2 separate regions of the Homo sapiens genome follow, and region 1 is linked to region 2. The links are contacts of gene promoters, found by promoter capture Hi-C in human tissues and cell types (Jung and others, 2019). All regions are on one chromosome and are shown on one strand. Each heading gives the region's core, a stretch centred on a gene start or on the middle of the fragment in contact. The rest is flanking DNA. Distances are from core to core; before and after follow the strand shown.

Region 1 (6,861 bases), core at 3,438-5,937, 360 kb before region 2:
CTTTATGCTTTCACAGATCTACTATCAGTTGTGCCTCAGTTATATTAACTATAATTCCCAGTTATGAAAAACAGAGACATGAGAAGAATTTAACTTGCCCATAACAACTGGCAAAATTAAAACGGAAGGAAGAGAATGCAGAATGCAGACTCCTCTGCTTCCCTTTCCTTTTCTCTCCATCTTTTTTTCTTACGACCCAGTCTCGCTTAACCTGAATCTCCACCTGGGAGTTGTAGCATTCCTAGGCTAGCTATCACTAAGGTTGGAAAAAGGAATGATCAAGAAGGCTTCAGCCTGGAGATAGTGACTGAAAATCACCCTGGGGCAGCTGGAAAATAAAAAGAAATAACCCTTAAAAAAGATGCTAGGAGGAAAGAAAGGTAATCCCATCTCTACCTGTCCTAGCTTCACTTTCATCTTTTCTGCTTTTTTTCTTTTGCCAATTCACTGTACCATTCGGTTATATAATGTATATATTGAGCACCTACTGTCTGTCAGGCACTGATACCTGCATTTTCCTAGTAACGACAGGGCTTTCTACACACTTTCTGATCTCCCTTGAGACCCTGGCCCTTCTCCAAAGCCCGTAAAAGCCACTGTCTTTCCTGTGTTAAATCTTCTCCCGCTGTGGCCTCAGGTGGCTCATTGGAACAGCAGGAACAGTTAAATCTGGAAGGCTTCAGGGTTTCTGTTATCTGCTCACTCCTCTACATGTGGGATTCTCTGATTCTTTTTCTCTAAAGGGGATATTAAGGGGGAAAATATCCAGGTTCAACTGGGGTTTTAGCACCTGTGGAAAATAATTATTGAACTTGACTGAGTGAAGGGCTGGCTGATTTTGGTGGATCCCTGAGGTCAGAGCTCAGTTGATTCCCTAAAAACCATTGAGTAATTTCCCTCAAAAGAAGATTAGGTTAAAGAGTAAGTTTGAGGTGCACAGAGGGAAACTTTGTGGGAGGGAAAACAGAAGAGAAATAACACCATTACCCCAATCTATTTCTGATAAATCAGCATAGAAAATCCATAATGTTGTAATTCTATTATCAATGGATGATAGAGAAGCATATTACCACAAAACAAGGATGATGAAGGAAAGATATAAAGGGGACATATAGTGATGTCTGTTTTGGCTTTTAAATCAAATTCCACAATAGGACTACATAAGAACCAATTTGAATGCTTACCACAAATTGGTATCTCTGCTTACATATTCTCTTTTTACCATTTTCCTACTGGTATCTGATTCTGTTAACAGTGTACCTACAGGGGCCAGGCACTTTGGGAGGCTGGGGCGAGTGGATCGCTTGAGCCCAGGAGTTTGAGACCAGCCTGGGCAACATGGTGAAACCCCATCTCTATTTCCTTAAAAATTGAAAAGTGAAAAGTAAAAATTAAAAAACAAATTTTAGAAAGTGTATGTACAGTGTCAGGGAAAGGGGAAATTTAAGGAAGAAACATGCAAATATTGAGGTTCTACTGTAGTGCCGTCAGAAGCAACTTTAATCTTTCAAATGTCACAAAGTTACATAGCAACCGTTGGAAAGAAATCTAATCTAGACCTCCAAGTTTCCCCTATTTCTTTAAATAAGGGAAAGTCTTCAGTAATTAAAGACCACTTTAAACCGGCCTGTGGGTTGCTTGAGTTAAAAAAAAAAAAAAAAAAAGAGGAAAGAAAGAATTTGTAGTTAATTGATAGGTGGACACCACATTGAGGGTCAAGTGGTTCAATGTACCTTAGAAGGAACCCATGGTAAGTCTTTGTAACTGAAAGTGAAGCAATGGGCCAGGTGTGGTGGCTCATGCTTGTAATCCCAGCACTTTGGGAGGCCGAGGCGGGCGGATCACCTGAAGTCAGGAGTTTGAGATCAGCCTGACTAACATGGTGAAACCCCGTCTCTACTAAATATACAAATTTAGCTGGGAGTGGTGGCACAAACCTGTAATTCCAGCTACTTGGGAGGCTGAGGCAGGAGAATGGCTTGAACCCGGGAGGCGGAGGTTGCAATGAGCCAAGATCGCGCCACTGCACTCCAGCCTGGGCGACAGAGTGAGACTTTGTCTCAAAAAAAAAAAAAAGAAAGAAAAAAAGTGAAGCAGTATAGTGTTTGTCAAAGCGTGATCTGTGCATTCGTGCCCATCCACAAACTGTTGTTCCTGGTCTGCAAAGGAACTGAGTGTAGAAACTTTAGAGCAATTTCACAGAATAATTTTAAGTCTATTGAATCTAATGGTTAAAAAGATTAAGTCTTCTATTTGTAATACCTTTACTTATTTAATTTTTCTGCTAAATTATTTTTATTATAGCTTTTAAAAGTATTGGTCTGTGAAGGATTGGAGGTTGAAAAAAACAAAGTAACAACAATTTTTTACCACAGTCCGTTTGAGAAGCACCCGTCTAGATTGTGCTTTCAGGTGGTTGCTTTCAGGGCTTTGTCATTGTGCAACACTAGGGGGCACCATCTGCATGGTTGTGTAACACAGCCGCCCTAATTTCTAATGACCAGTGCTAGATAAGAGGGCTGTGAATTATCCAACTGTAGACCACAGATGTGCCTTTATATGGACACATGATTTTGGATGGGTGGGGATATTTTGTAAACTTAAACTGTTGAGCCCAGATATGTAAAACAACTTGTGTTTGAAATGTCAGATTTGTATTATGTATTAACCTGGTAGGCAACTTTTTGATTCCTCAGGACAGAGAGATATCACCCCTTCTACTCCCACTGACCAAGAAAGTTTAGCTGGTTTTGCCAAGATTTGGCAGAAACTGCCTTTTACCATTTCATTTTCCTTTGTGGCAGTTTTGTAAGTGGAGAGGAAGTGTTTGAATCTGAGCCCCCTGCAGCTCCGGTTTGAGTTACAGCTTGAGGTCATTGTTCATTGATAGGCAATCACGTATGTTTGCTTAGAAACAGTAAGCATCTCTCCCAATACATTGTTCTTCTTAATTATGTTTTAATTAGGTGAATCTTAAAATACATTTTTCTTGGTGGTATGATGTAAAGAACTTTGGAGTTATGTAAGCCTGTATGTGGACCCCAGGACTGTTATAATACCTGGCTGTGTTACTTGGGAGATAGGACTCTCAGCTTTCATTTCTCATCAATAAAATGGGGATAATCCTGCCTATCTTGCCAAGGTGTTGTAAGGGGTTAAGTAAAATAATTCATGCAAAACACACCCCACATGGTACTTAGCATAGCACGCTTTCATATGTGTTAATTTCTTCTTCACTTTTATTTGGGCAATAGGCCCAAGAGAACTTAGGGGAAGGATGAATGATAAGTAAGTAAGGCAAGGAAAGGAATGAAAGAACATAGCCTTGGATTGGCAATCTGCAGTCCATTAAAGTCAGCTGGTTCAGGGCATTGTACCCCAGCATGTGAACTAATTTGCATTTTTAATGCCCATCGGCCTGATATCATGGGAATGTGCCCAGCCAATTTGGGAATATCATTCAAACCATCCACAAGGACCATGTATAGCAGAGGTGTCCAGATTTCACCAGCCTTCAGTGGGCCACACTTCTAATTAATGCCCAAATAACTTTCAGCTTCATCCCCTTATGTAACTGTGAGAAGATTAGTCTCTGACTTTTCCCAAAGAATTTCTGGAAATTCCCAGGAATTCTTACCATCTACTAATAGAGCCCCATTAAGAGTCCATCTTGTAATTCCCCAAAACAGAGAACAAGACTATCATTTAACAAAATTTTACTGAAAGAGATGTGGGAAAGAGATTTTACTGAAAGAAAATCATGAGAAGAAATAACAAGGCAGAAAAGAAAAATATAAAACTGGGCCCTGTAGAACATCCCCTACCTTTATCTCATAGGAGGACTATCTCCCCTTTATTCCCTGTCCCTCTACCTTGTGGTAGGGATCAATATTCCTACAGATAACAAGAGTCCATTGACCATGGCTCCCCTTCCCAGACCCCAAGGAAAACAGTCTCAGGGCTGCTCAGTAAATATTTGTTGAATTAATGAATGGTCTTAACCTTCCCATTCCAGATTAAGATCTTGGCTTTATATTTATATGATTGTTAAAATTTTTATTTAGATTTTTTCCCCTCAAACAATCAGTTTCAAATGTAAATTTTGAATCTCCCTTCTATTATACACTTAAAGATCTGTTAAGGGGTAAAAAAAATTTACCTTCCAGATAGGTAATTTTTTTAATTTGGCAACTTGGGAATAGTAGCTTTTCTCTGTCCTTGTACCCAACTTCTTAACTTTAACAATGAAGATTTTATGGGCCCAATGGCCCCAGCCTAAGCTGGTGCACCTTGTTACATAGGGCATTTACTGTTGAGAGCATATTTCTGAGAATCCCAAGATTTTCACTTTTGCATAAAGGCTGACTGAGTAGACTCTGTTATCCTATAATATAGCTTTTAAAACAAATTATTGTACTAGTAGCTAATTGCTCATTAAGATCTAGCTTTATGGGCTAGGCGCAGTGGCTCATGCCTATAATCCGAGCACTTTGGGAGGACGAGACAGGCGGATCACTTGAGGTCAAGAGTTTGAGACCAGCCTGGCCAACACTGTGAAACCCCATATCTACTAAAAATACAAAAATTAGCTGGGCTTGGTGGTGGGTGTCTTTATCCCAGCTACTTGGGAGGCTGAGGCAAGAAAATCGCTTGAGCCTGCAAGGTAGAGGTTGCAGTGAGCCAAGAGCGTGCCACTACACTCCAGCCTGGGCAACACAGTGAGACTCTGTCTCAAAAACAAAAAAAAAAAGATCTGGCTATATTGCTATATACTAACTGTGATAGGTTCTGTAGTTCCTCTCAATAACACTGCCAGGTAAGGTTCGTTATTTTATGTATGAGGAAACTAAGGTTCAAAGAGAACGACTTGTCTGTAGTCATGCAGCTGGTTAATGGCAGAGCTGGATTCAACTCAGGCAAGCTACCTATAGATCTCAGGGCAGGTAGGAAAGGGTTATATTAGACTCAAGTAGGAAGCTTTATGAAATTGCTCCCCACTTCCTGCTTCTCCATGATATTCTGATATGTACCCCAAATGGCTGTGAATCTTTGCAGAAGTCAGTGGTTGTTACTGACCGGAGAGTGAGGAATTATCTTCCATGTTTTGGGGGTGGTAAAAATTCTGAGAACCACCACCACATGTTACTTCTTCCATCTGCCTTCCGCTGCTTGAGGCTTCAAAATAAAGTTGTAAGAAATTCCAGCTCTTTGCCCTTACCAATATAGCCCAGGGTGACTCTTACTTAATTCTGTATATGAGTTCCAGAAAATATAGAACTCTATAGAAAAAAATGTATGGCACTTGGCTGAGATTTTCTGTTGACTTCCCTCCAGTCCTTATAAGATCACTTTTCCCTTACTTGATTGTTGTCCCCCATTGACCAAACCAGCAGGTTCTGGCCACTCCCCTCAGTGACTAAAGCTGTCAGCGTCATTACTAGGGTTAAGGCCCTGTCATGGGCTGCCCCAGCCACACACATATTCCAGCTGCTTTGCCTGTTTTAGTCATCCTGTGACATCTCTTCTTGTTATATAGGATATCATCTATGTAAAAGATGAGAGAGAGAGAGGGCTTCTGTGATCTGCAAACCCTTTGAAGACAAGGCTGATGTTTTACTATCTATCTTGGTGCCTAGTACAGTGCTTAGTACCAAATGAATGATAAAATACATGAGAAAGAACAGGATGGTCTCCTCATGATTGCACTTTCTCAGGATAGGCCTGGACCCTATCTCCATTTCCATAGAAATGGCCCTTTCCCCCAGGTTCTGGTACATGGCCCTGGTTGAGCTAATAAACAGCAACAAAAGAACTTAAAGTCTAAAAATGCTTTGAGGCCTGAAAGAAATTATCTCTGAAGGTGAAGTGTTGAGGTAGAAAGATGGAGAAATGGGGTAAGTGCATGTGCAGGGAAAGGGCAGGGACTTCCCAGCTCACCTCCTGTCATGTCCAGATGCAGCCACATACTTTGCTTACAGTGACTTGTCCTGTGTGGAGGCAATTCTTTGAGGCAAAACTATGCCTTAAAGCCTTAAAGCCCAGCCCAGAATTTCACATCAGCCCTTCTCTAGTCCTGACATTATTCACCAAATAAAAGGCAGATACTTGCTATGTTTTACAAGTTTCTTGTCTGTGTCATCAGCCTTGTTCCATCCTTAGATACAAAGAGGGTTGAAAACAGGATGTTTGAAAACAGGATGTTTGGGTTAAAAAACAGGGTTGAAGAAAAAAAGAATAATATTCAGAAAAGAATGTGGCAAGTGGACATAGTTCTTAAGGAACCCTACAAATGAGATTTGAAAACCTGGCTCATTTCATGATTCATTGACTCAAAGATTTTAAGGACATATTTCAGCTGGTAGAAAAAAGTTCACTTGAGGATAACATCTTGAGAGTCAAGTTGAAGATAAAAGACTCCTGTTTCTGGTATCTCTGTGAAACATAAACGAGGGTACCCTTTAGGACCAAGTACTTCATAGAAAGTTAGAGCTGGAAGGGGATTTACAAGCCATTTCATTTTAGTCTTCTCAGGAAACTGAGGCTCATAGGAGTTAAGTGTCTAGTTTGAAGAATTATGGGATCTTAGAGTAAGAAGATTTGTAATTCATCACCTAAGGGAAGAATACTTTCCAGAGTATCCTGAAAAATGGTAGCTCCAGGCTATGTAGATATATCCAGGAACCAGGAGGTTAACCTTTGATGAACAGCTCTAGTTGTTAGTGAATTCTTTCCATTTCTGGGCCAAATTCTTCTTCAATGTAACTTGCACCCATTGATCTTGGCTCTCATGTCTTCCCTTGATAATTCTTCTCCAGGAGAAATGCGCCCAGCTTCTTCCAATATTCCTAGTCTAGGGGTGGC
Region 2 (7,800 bases), core at 3,407-5,906:
GTGAGGATTATACTGTACCTGTTACGGAAAGTGCATCATCTTTCTATGTCTAACCTCCAGAACTGGGAGAAAATGTATTTCAATTGCCTTAAGCCACCAGTTTGTGTACTTTCTTAAAGCAGCTGAAGGACTTCATACATCCTTGGAACCACTCTAGGTGCCTGTCCTGCTGTCACTTTAGGGTGTCATGCAGGTTTATAAGCAGTGGGACAAAGAGTGAGAGATATTTCCATCTCCTAAAAATCCTCCTGGAAGCAGTCTTTGGGTATTTCCTGGTTAAGAGATTGAAATGATAGACACCAGATAAAATTATGGAGCTTTCTCTATTATCCTCTTTTCATACCTCTATTTTTACTAAAAGAATAGAATTATGTATAGAATGCATGTGCCAAGAGAAGGTTCAGAGTCAGTCAAGTAACCAGGTAGAAGCTCCATGAAAGCATAATTATTATTTTTTCTCTCCTGAATCCTAAAGTCCTAGAAAACTGATAGACACATAGAGTAAACTCAATCATTGATCATGAATAACGTAGAGACCCAAAATATTGATATTTTATTGATCGACACTACTGTCAAGAAATACACCTTATGCGCTTCTCCCCTTTGTTCTCAAAGAACAATCTAGAGGAGTCTAGGCAAACCAGGTGGTACAGTTCAGACTGTACAGTATAATCTATGAGTTCTGCCCTATGACTCCCATGATCCCTCTTCATCTTCAATAGAGTATTGGTAGGAAAAAGTTCTTTATGAGAGATGTATCAAGATCATGAGCAGTTCTTCCTTACTCCAGGATGCAGCCTAAACCCCATAGCTGCATTGTGTGGAATCGTTTGAGATCCTCTCTCCTGTCTCCATTCCAACCAGATCTTGACAATTCCTTTTCTCCACACCACCTCCTGCCCTGCTGACTCTGGCTGTTTCCACACATGCTATGCTTCCAGGCCTTTGTGCATTTTCCTGGGCTTCTACTTGTCCCTTTTTGCACTCTCTTCTGCTTAGATGTCTTTCAAGATGCAGATCAGCCATCAGTTTCCTTAGGGAAATTTTGCTCTCTCCTCTTACCTACACTGTTCCCTGTATATTTATTCTTTCACATGTTGGCATTAAACACGACCCTGATTCCTGTGGATCATTACAGTCTCTATGATGACCTACAAGTATCATTGCACTTATTATCCTTTGCTTCTCCATGTCCCACACTAGATTCAGAGCACTTTATGGGCAGGCACAGGGGGCTACTCAAATCATGCCACTTGAATTAAGTTTATAGGACCTGATAATGAGGTAGTAGCAGCTTCAGTTAGCCTGCAAACAAACAAACACAACTAGTAGAACCTCACTGACAGAGTATAAAATGTACTCTTTGATTTAGGATTTAGAGACACATAGGGAGGAGGTATGTGTAGCCAGAGGAATGCCAGTATTTGTGCCAATTCACCACTTTGATGAGGGGATGTGGAGTAATGCCAGGGACAAAAGAGGAGTTTATAGAATGATTGAAGGTCTAAAGGCAGCGTGCTGAGAGGCAGGTGGAGGATATGCATTGGGCAAAGTTCTAGGGAGGTCTCTGGGTTTACCCTAGGGTGAACATGCCTAATACCTCTCCCACCAGTTCATTCCTTCACTGCTTTTCCTCCGTACTATGAGCTGATGTTAGAGATGGTTAGATCCTTTATCTCTTACATTTCTTCTAGTGTGAAAAGAGGAAAAATGAAGAGACTTGAGTGAGTGTGTGTGAACGTATGTGTTTATGTGTGTAAAACTTTAAAAATTTATTTCCAGTAAGTTTGTAGTTCACATATTACAGTTATACACATTTTTGTAGTACATGTGATATTTTGATACGTGTATATAATGTGTAATGATCAAATCAGGGTAATTGGGATATGCATCCAAACTAACATTCATCTTTTTTGTGTTGGAATCATTACAATTCTCTTCTAGCTATTTTGGAATATACAGTGAATTATTGTTAAGTATAATTTCCCCATTGTACTATCAACTACTAGAACTTATTCCATCTATCTAACTTCCTCCATTTGGAGAGACTATATTAGTACAGAGCAAGTGAAACATGTGAATACTAATAATGATTCTCATGTTCTAATAAACAGCAATCATTTAATTGGGCATCAGTGAATTTGTCATTGAGAATACATATGAGAATGGATGAGATGTCCAGTCCATGATTACTCTACTATGTACATAATTTAACTGAAGTTCCATCGTCACAAATTACTTCACAACAGAATGGATCAAATCTGTGACGTCCACTTCTCTTTTTGCGGGAAAGTATTATTTTCTTCAATGATGGCTGCCCTTCAGACAGTGGTTTCTTCAGCTCTGGTGACAAATTAGGAATGAATTCTGATGTCGTACCTAAGGCTTGTCCATCTTTGTTGTTGGAGGTTGACACCATTTCTGTGAAGTAAAAGAGAGGAATGAAAGGTGAGGAAAAACATTCATGTGAAAGAGGATCAGAAAAATTATACAATTTGCCTAGACCACAATGTACCCATTGCCTCCATGTAATTAAACACCAGAGAGAATCAGCAAGTATCCTAACATTTCAACAACTTAGCTTACTTAGAGTAGGGCACTTTAAGATACTACAATATTAAGGATATGCTAACTCCTCATCCTGTCCCCTCTATGCACTCTTCTAATGACCCTCTAAATGCCTATACCATACCACTTTTGACTCTCCCTGACACTGTTTTGATTGATAACCTCAATGCATTATGTACTGGATAGCAATAGGGAATTTTTTTTATAATCACAAGTTATTCTAATAGAAAGATTCAGATATTCAAATCTGATCCACATAAATCTATACATCTATATCAGTGGATCTTAGCTAAAAGGCTGAGAAGCAACATACATCTATATGTGTCGACACCAAATGTTAACATTTGTTATCCATGAATACTTTCCATTTTTCTTGTTAAATTTATCTATATTTGTCAAAGTATTTAAATGAGGATTTTCACTTATTTACTGAAAAAAAGTGAAATTTAAATAGAAATTATAGTACAGCATGCTCTTCCTTAGTTTGCATTAGAAATTGTTTGGACTTTGTGGTATTCTTCCCTTATTTTATAGTAAAATGAAACAAGCTCTGACTAATAATGTAAAAAAAGGAAATAACTTTGAAATCGTTATATAAATCACACAAAATCCAAGTGCATTCACTGTGCACGATAACTTTAAACAGAGTCATTTAATGATTTAATGAAGTGTATGCATATGGGTTACAAGAAGCAGTTCTGGAGTCACACATTGCTGGTTCAAAACCTGTGTCATTTGTATTAAATGTAAAACAATGTTTAGTAATTTAACTTAGCTTTTCAGAACTTAATACGACCTATTAGACAGAATATAGTAGCCTCTATCTCTTTTCGAAACTGCCCCTGCTAGTTTTAACTTAGCTGGCAATTTATCTTTATGAATACCTTGTTACTTGGTAAAGTTTGAAAACTATCCTGGTATTGAACTTTCCTCAATTCTGAAATCTTGCTTTTAAAGAAAATGCTTTGCAGTCTCAAATGTTGAAAACACTAATCAAATCAGCTATGATGGTCTGAACAGTGAAATTCCCTTGTCTCTGGTCCCCTTCAATTTCCCCTCTAGTCATCCAGGCCACTTTCTTTCTCTTCATCTCATCTCTCTCAACACACTACAAGAGTAGATTCAAAGAAATGGGAGGCAAGGTGCTCTGTTGGTGTGCATTAAAAAAAACTTTTTTGTAAGAGGACGTTTTTGGTGACATAGACCACTGCCCAGCTTAATGACAAAGGATGAGAGTTATTAAATCTAAGCCCCCTTTATCTCACATTCCAGGAACCTAACAGAGGTCTCAGTGTGCTGCCCCTAGGCCAATAGGTGCATAAACAGAAATGATAATCAGCTCATCACCTCACTGTTTGTCCCCTTTCTTCTTAATTGAAGATGCCTGGCCCAGGCATCTCATTGCAATCACACCTGTTTTCTGGCCTGCCCAGCTTTCCTGGGGGTCTGGGAGTACACCTCACCTCCTGCTGGTGTTTGAGAATAGTCACCTTCTCTGAGGATTCCCTGTTTTCTCCACCCTGTATCTCTGGCTGCCAGGTGGGAAAGGCACCAAGAGCCTCCAAGGTGAGGCTGTTCTTCTGTTTTTCCTGCAGCTTCTCCTCTACCCCCAACTTCCCATGAGATTTCTGGTGAGACCCTTTTAATAAAAGCACATTACAATGAAAAACCACAAACTTGTAGGCACTAGCCACAGTAGAGTCTGAGTTGACTACAGGCAGTCAATGAGATCTGGAGCCTGTTTTTTCAGGCCTCATTCTGATTGTTTGGTAGTCCAGGGCTCTCACCTTTGGGACGTCCAGATTCCAGCAGCCACCCTCCTGGGGTGGTGGTGAATGTCTTCTCAGGCATGGGGCAATATGACAGCAAGTGTTTTCCAAATCGGGGACCACATCCCCTCAGCTCTGCTGCTAGGCTTTCTCTAAGGAGTTGGCTCAGCAGCAGCCAGATTGCTGGCAGATAGGACCGGAACAGGCTGGCCATCCTGGACCTGAACTCTCCTGTTCTGGGTGTTCTCAGCCTTTCTTTAGAGACTTGCTGCTGTAGCCTACCAGACTGTGCTGGTGTGTCCCTTCTGGGCTCCAGACTGCTTTCTGCATGCCTTCATCAGGCATTTATTTGCTTAGGGCTATTACTCAGCTTTTGCGTCAATGGTGTCAGTTCCACCCCTTTCCCACCCACCTACAAGGAACTTTCTCCCTCAGTTCTTATTTAGTCTCCCTACTTGCCCTACCCACACTCTCATATCCCTCTTTGCTCCCAATGTGCTGCTGCACTTTGCTTGTTTTGAATTTGGTTGTTCTACTTCTTTTTCTTAACTTTCCTCCTGTAATACTATTTTTATGCTTACTAAAATAATGGTAATTTTTAATGTCCTTTGCTTAGATGAAATAAAAATAGAACTGACCTGTAAGCTCATTGGCTAGAAATTATCTTAGTTAACATTTGGCATATAAGCTTTTAATTGCGGGGGTCTGTCCCACAGACCCTGACCCAACGACGGATGAATAACATACACTGACACAGATAGTTTGCCTGTCAGTCCAGCTGAGGGTCCGGGCCACCTACAGACACCAAGGAGGGTGCTGTAAAGAGTTGCAGCCGTGGCCCCGATCAGCCAGCAAAGCTCACATTTATTCAGCATAGATTAAATGACGAAGGTCTTGAGTAAACACCACTAGAAGGTAATTGACATTGCCAACCTCCCGAGTAGAGAGCAATTATGCACCCGCGGTTGATCAAAGATTAGTCTTAGGACCACATGAGTAAACAAACTAGATAAACTACATTCATTTGTATCTGTGCCTTAAGCTATTAACTCAAGGTAAGGATTAGGCTGCCTTCAGCCTGATCTATTACTGGAGCTTATACAAACCCCTCCGGCGTTTCAAAAAGGTTTGCGTCTTTTTCTTATAACTATCTGAAAAAATTTTCCCACCAGCCTGACTGAACTCTCACATCTCCCCCCTTTCTGTTCTTTGCATCGGGTTCTGTTGACTTAAGAGTACAGATGTGTGCAGCAACAGGTTTGTTAGGTTTTGCTTTTATTCCGGCTTTGCATCATAGAATTAGCAAATAACGTAAGACAATCATGAGTATAATTAGTAACATTCCTTTCCAGTCAAAGTGTGACCCCCAGGATCGGGGGTATAACCAGGAGAAATGATCTTGCACACCTTTCCATATGGCTGTTTGTTGAGTATGTAGATCTATCATGTGAAGGGATTCTAAAATTTTAGTTTTAAGTTGCTTTACGTCTGCTGTTAAATTGTCATGAAAGTTTCCCCAGAGGTGTTGTTTCACCTCATCCCAACTATGTATTGATTGATTCCAAGGTAAAAATGTGACACAGATATGTTTATGCTCCCAGTCACAGTTTAATTGCTATCAGAATGCTAGGGCATCTTGTCGCTCCCCCACAAATTCCAAGGCAGCCTCGAGGGCTTGCAGACGTGCAAGAATCTCTTGATCTATACCCTGCTGTAAGAGAAGTTCATTAGACACATTTCTGGCCAAATTGTCTACAAAAGCAGCTGTTTGCACTGATTCGGTAGTAGATGCTATAGCCACACTAGCAGTTGCTAGGATGACTATGGCTGAGACTATAAAGGTTATAAGTGTGCCTATAAATCTTTTGGGTCTGACCTGGGATAGGGCACATTCTAAGGTGGCAAAGGAAGAGGAACCTTGCCAATAGTGTGTCAAATTGACGGGTAGGAATGCCTCAGATTGTCTCCTTAATACCATGACACTAGTAGTATTTAAATTAGATATATTGTAATTAGTGGTACATGAGGCAAACAAAGCCTGTCCTTGCACCCGGGTCACAAACATGGAATTTTGGGTTGTAATAGAAATATTAGTTCCCATAAGGAAAACATATGGATGGAGTTGCAAATTAGGGACTGATCAGTGTGATTATGAATAAAGGTTATAGTATAGTTGTTACTGTAATTATGATATGTCCCATGCCAGGTGTCAAGGGAGGTGCTAAGATGTCCCAGGCAACATAAAGTGTCTTGGGGAGGCATCAACTTTACTCGGGGTCTGGGATATCCTATCCTCCCATCGGCCCAAATCATAAGGGAATGGGACGAGGCTATGAAACTGTGATCGATGCCATGATGGATGAGGATATCAGTAAGGCTGCCCTACAAATGGCCACAGGGGCTCCAGTCTAGGATGTTATAATTGCCTAACTGGAGGCTATGAGCTTATTCCCCATGACAGATCTCCCAGCTAAAGTGGAATCCGTTATTTTTCCGGCTTTGTTCTTTAGCACAGGAAGGAATGTTTGGGAAAGCAGACTTGATTTCCGTTTTGAGGCTACCTGCAGCTAAGACTGTTAAGGCACTTCTTTTGCCATGATGTAGCCATAATTGTGTTTCAGTAGGTGCACACTAAGGGTTAGAACATTTATAATTTACACACAATGGGAGGATAGTAGAGTGATCTGTAGTGTTATCTGGCACCTTAGTCCAATGTGTGCCATTATTGAGGAACCCCACTGGGGGTAAATCTATCCCTCCTAGCTAAGCAGTCACGTTATTAAAGGCTGGGAAGGGGTTGTATACCCAAGTGACAGGGCAAAAGAAAAGTGGATCTAAGATATGAGCCCAATAGAGTGTAGACATTGCCACCCTCCCGAGTAGAGAGCAATTATGCACCTGCGGTTGATCAAAGGTTGGTCTTAAGACCACATGTGTAAACAAGCTATTTAGATAAACTACTATACATTCCTTTGTATCTGTGCCCTAAGCTATTAACTCAAGGTAAGGATTAGGCTGCCTCCAGCCTGATCTATTACTGGAGCTTATGCAACACCTCCAGCCTTCCAAGAAGGTTTGCATCTTTTTCTTATAACTATCTTTAAATTTTTCCCACCAGCCTGACTCAACTCCCACATTTAATATTTCTCCTAACTTACTCCGTATTTATTTGTATTTTTTCTTCCAAACATTAAAATATATTGTATTGATTTCTATATTGTCTTGTGTATCTATCCATAGTATTTTGATGAGTGGATGGATCAGTTGTTCATTAGAGAAAGACGACTAGTGATGTTTAAACCAGGTCCTGTGAACACTATTAAAATTCCAATAACATCACTTTAGGCTTGTATAACAATGTTTGAAGTTTACAAGGAACTTTCTTCAAAGGTATGTACTTACATCTGCCCTCCATTGATCCTGAGAAGGATGAGAAACACAGGCATCCTATAGGGTTGACTGT

What was found. Contacts are between HindIII fragments. The study calls those that stand out against the background at their distance.
Region 1: a contact is called between a fragment that was not itself captured here and the fragment with the promoter of INSL4 in region 2, in 1 of the 25 tissues and cell types used here (small bowel).

Annotation. Positions count from the first base shown.
Region 1 is chr9:5,585,806-5,592,666 of GRCh38, reverse strand. All of the region lies in intron 1 of INCR1 (interferon stimulated noncoding RNA 1), which reads left to right. Among named protein-coding and RNA genes, the nearest start is that of RIC1, 40 kb to the left of the region's middle. RefSeq lists an enhancer at 2,575-2,764. The HindIII fragment of the contact is 5,555 bases long and covers 1,910-6,861 here.
Region 2 is chr9:5,228,275-5,236,074 of GRCh38, reverse strand. It overlaps INSL4 (insulin like 4), which reads right to left and starts at 4,656. Exons shown (of 2, transcript NM_002195.2): 1 at 4,356-4,656; 2 at 771-2,421. The coding sequence starts at 4,551. The coding sequence ends at 2,198. RefSeq lists a promoter at 4,562-5,379. The HindIII fragment of the contact is 9,700 bases long and covers 1-7,557 here.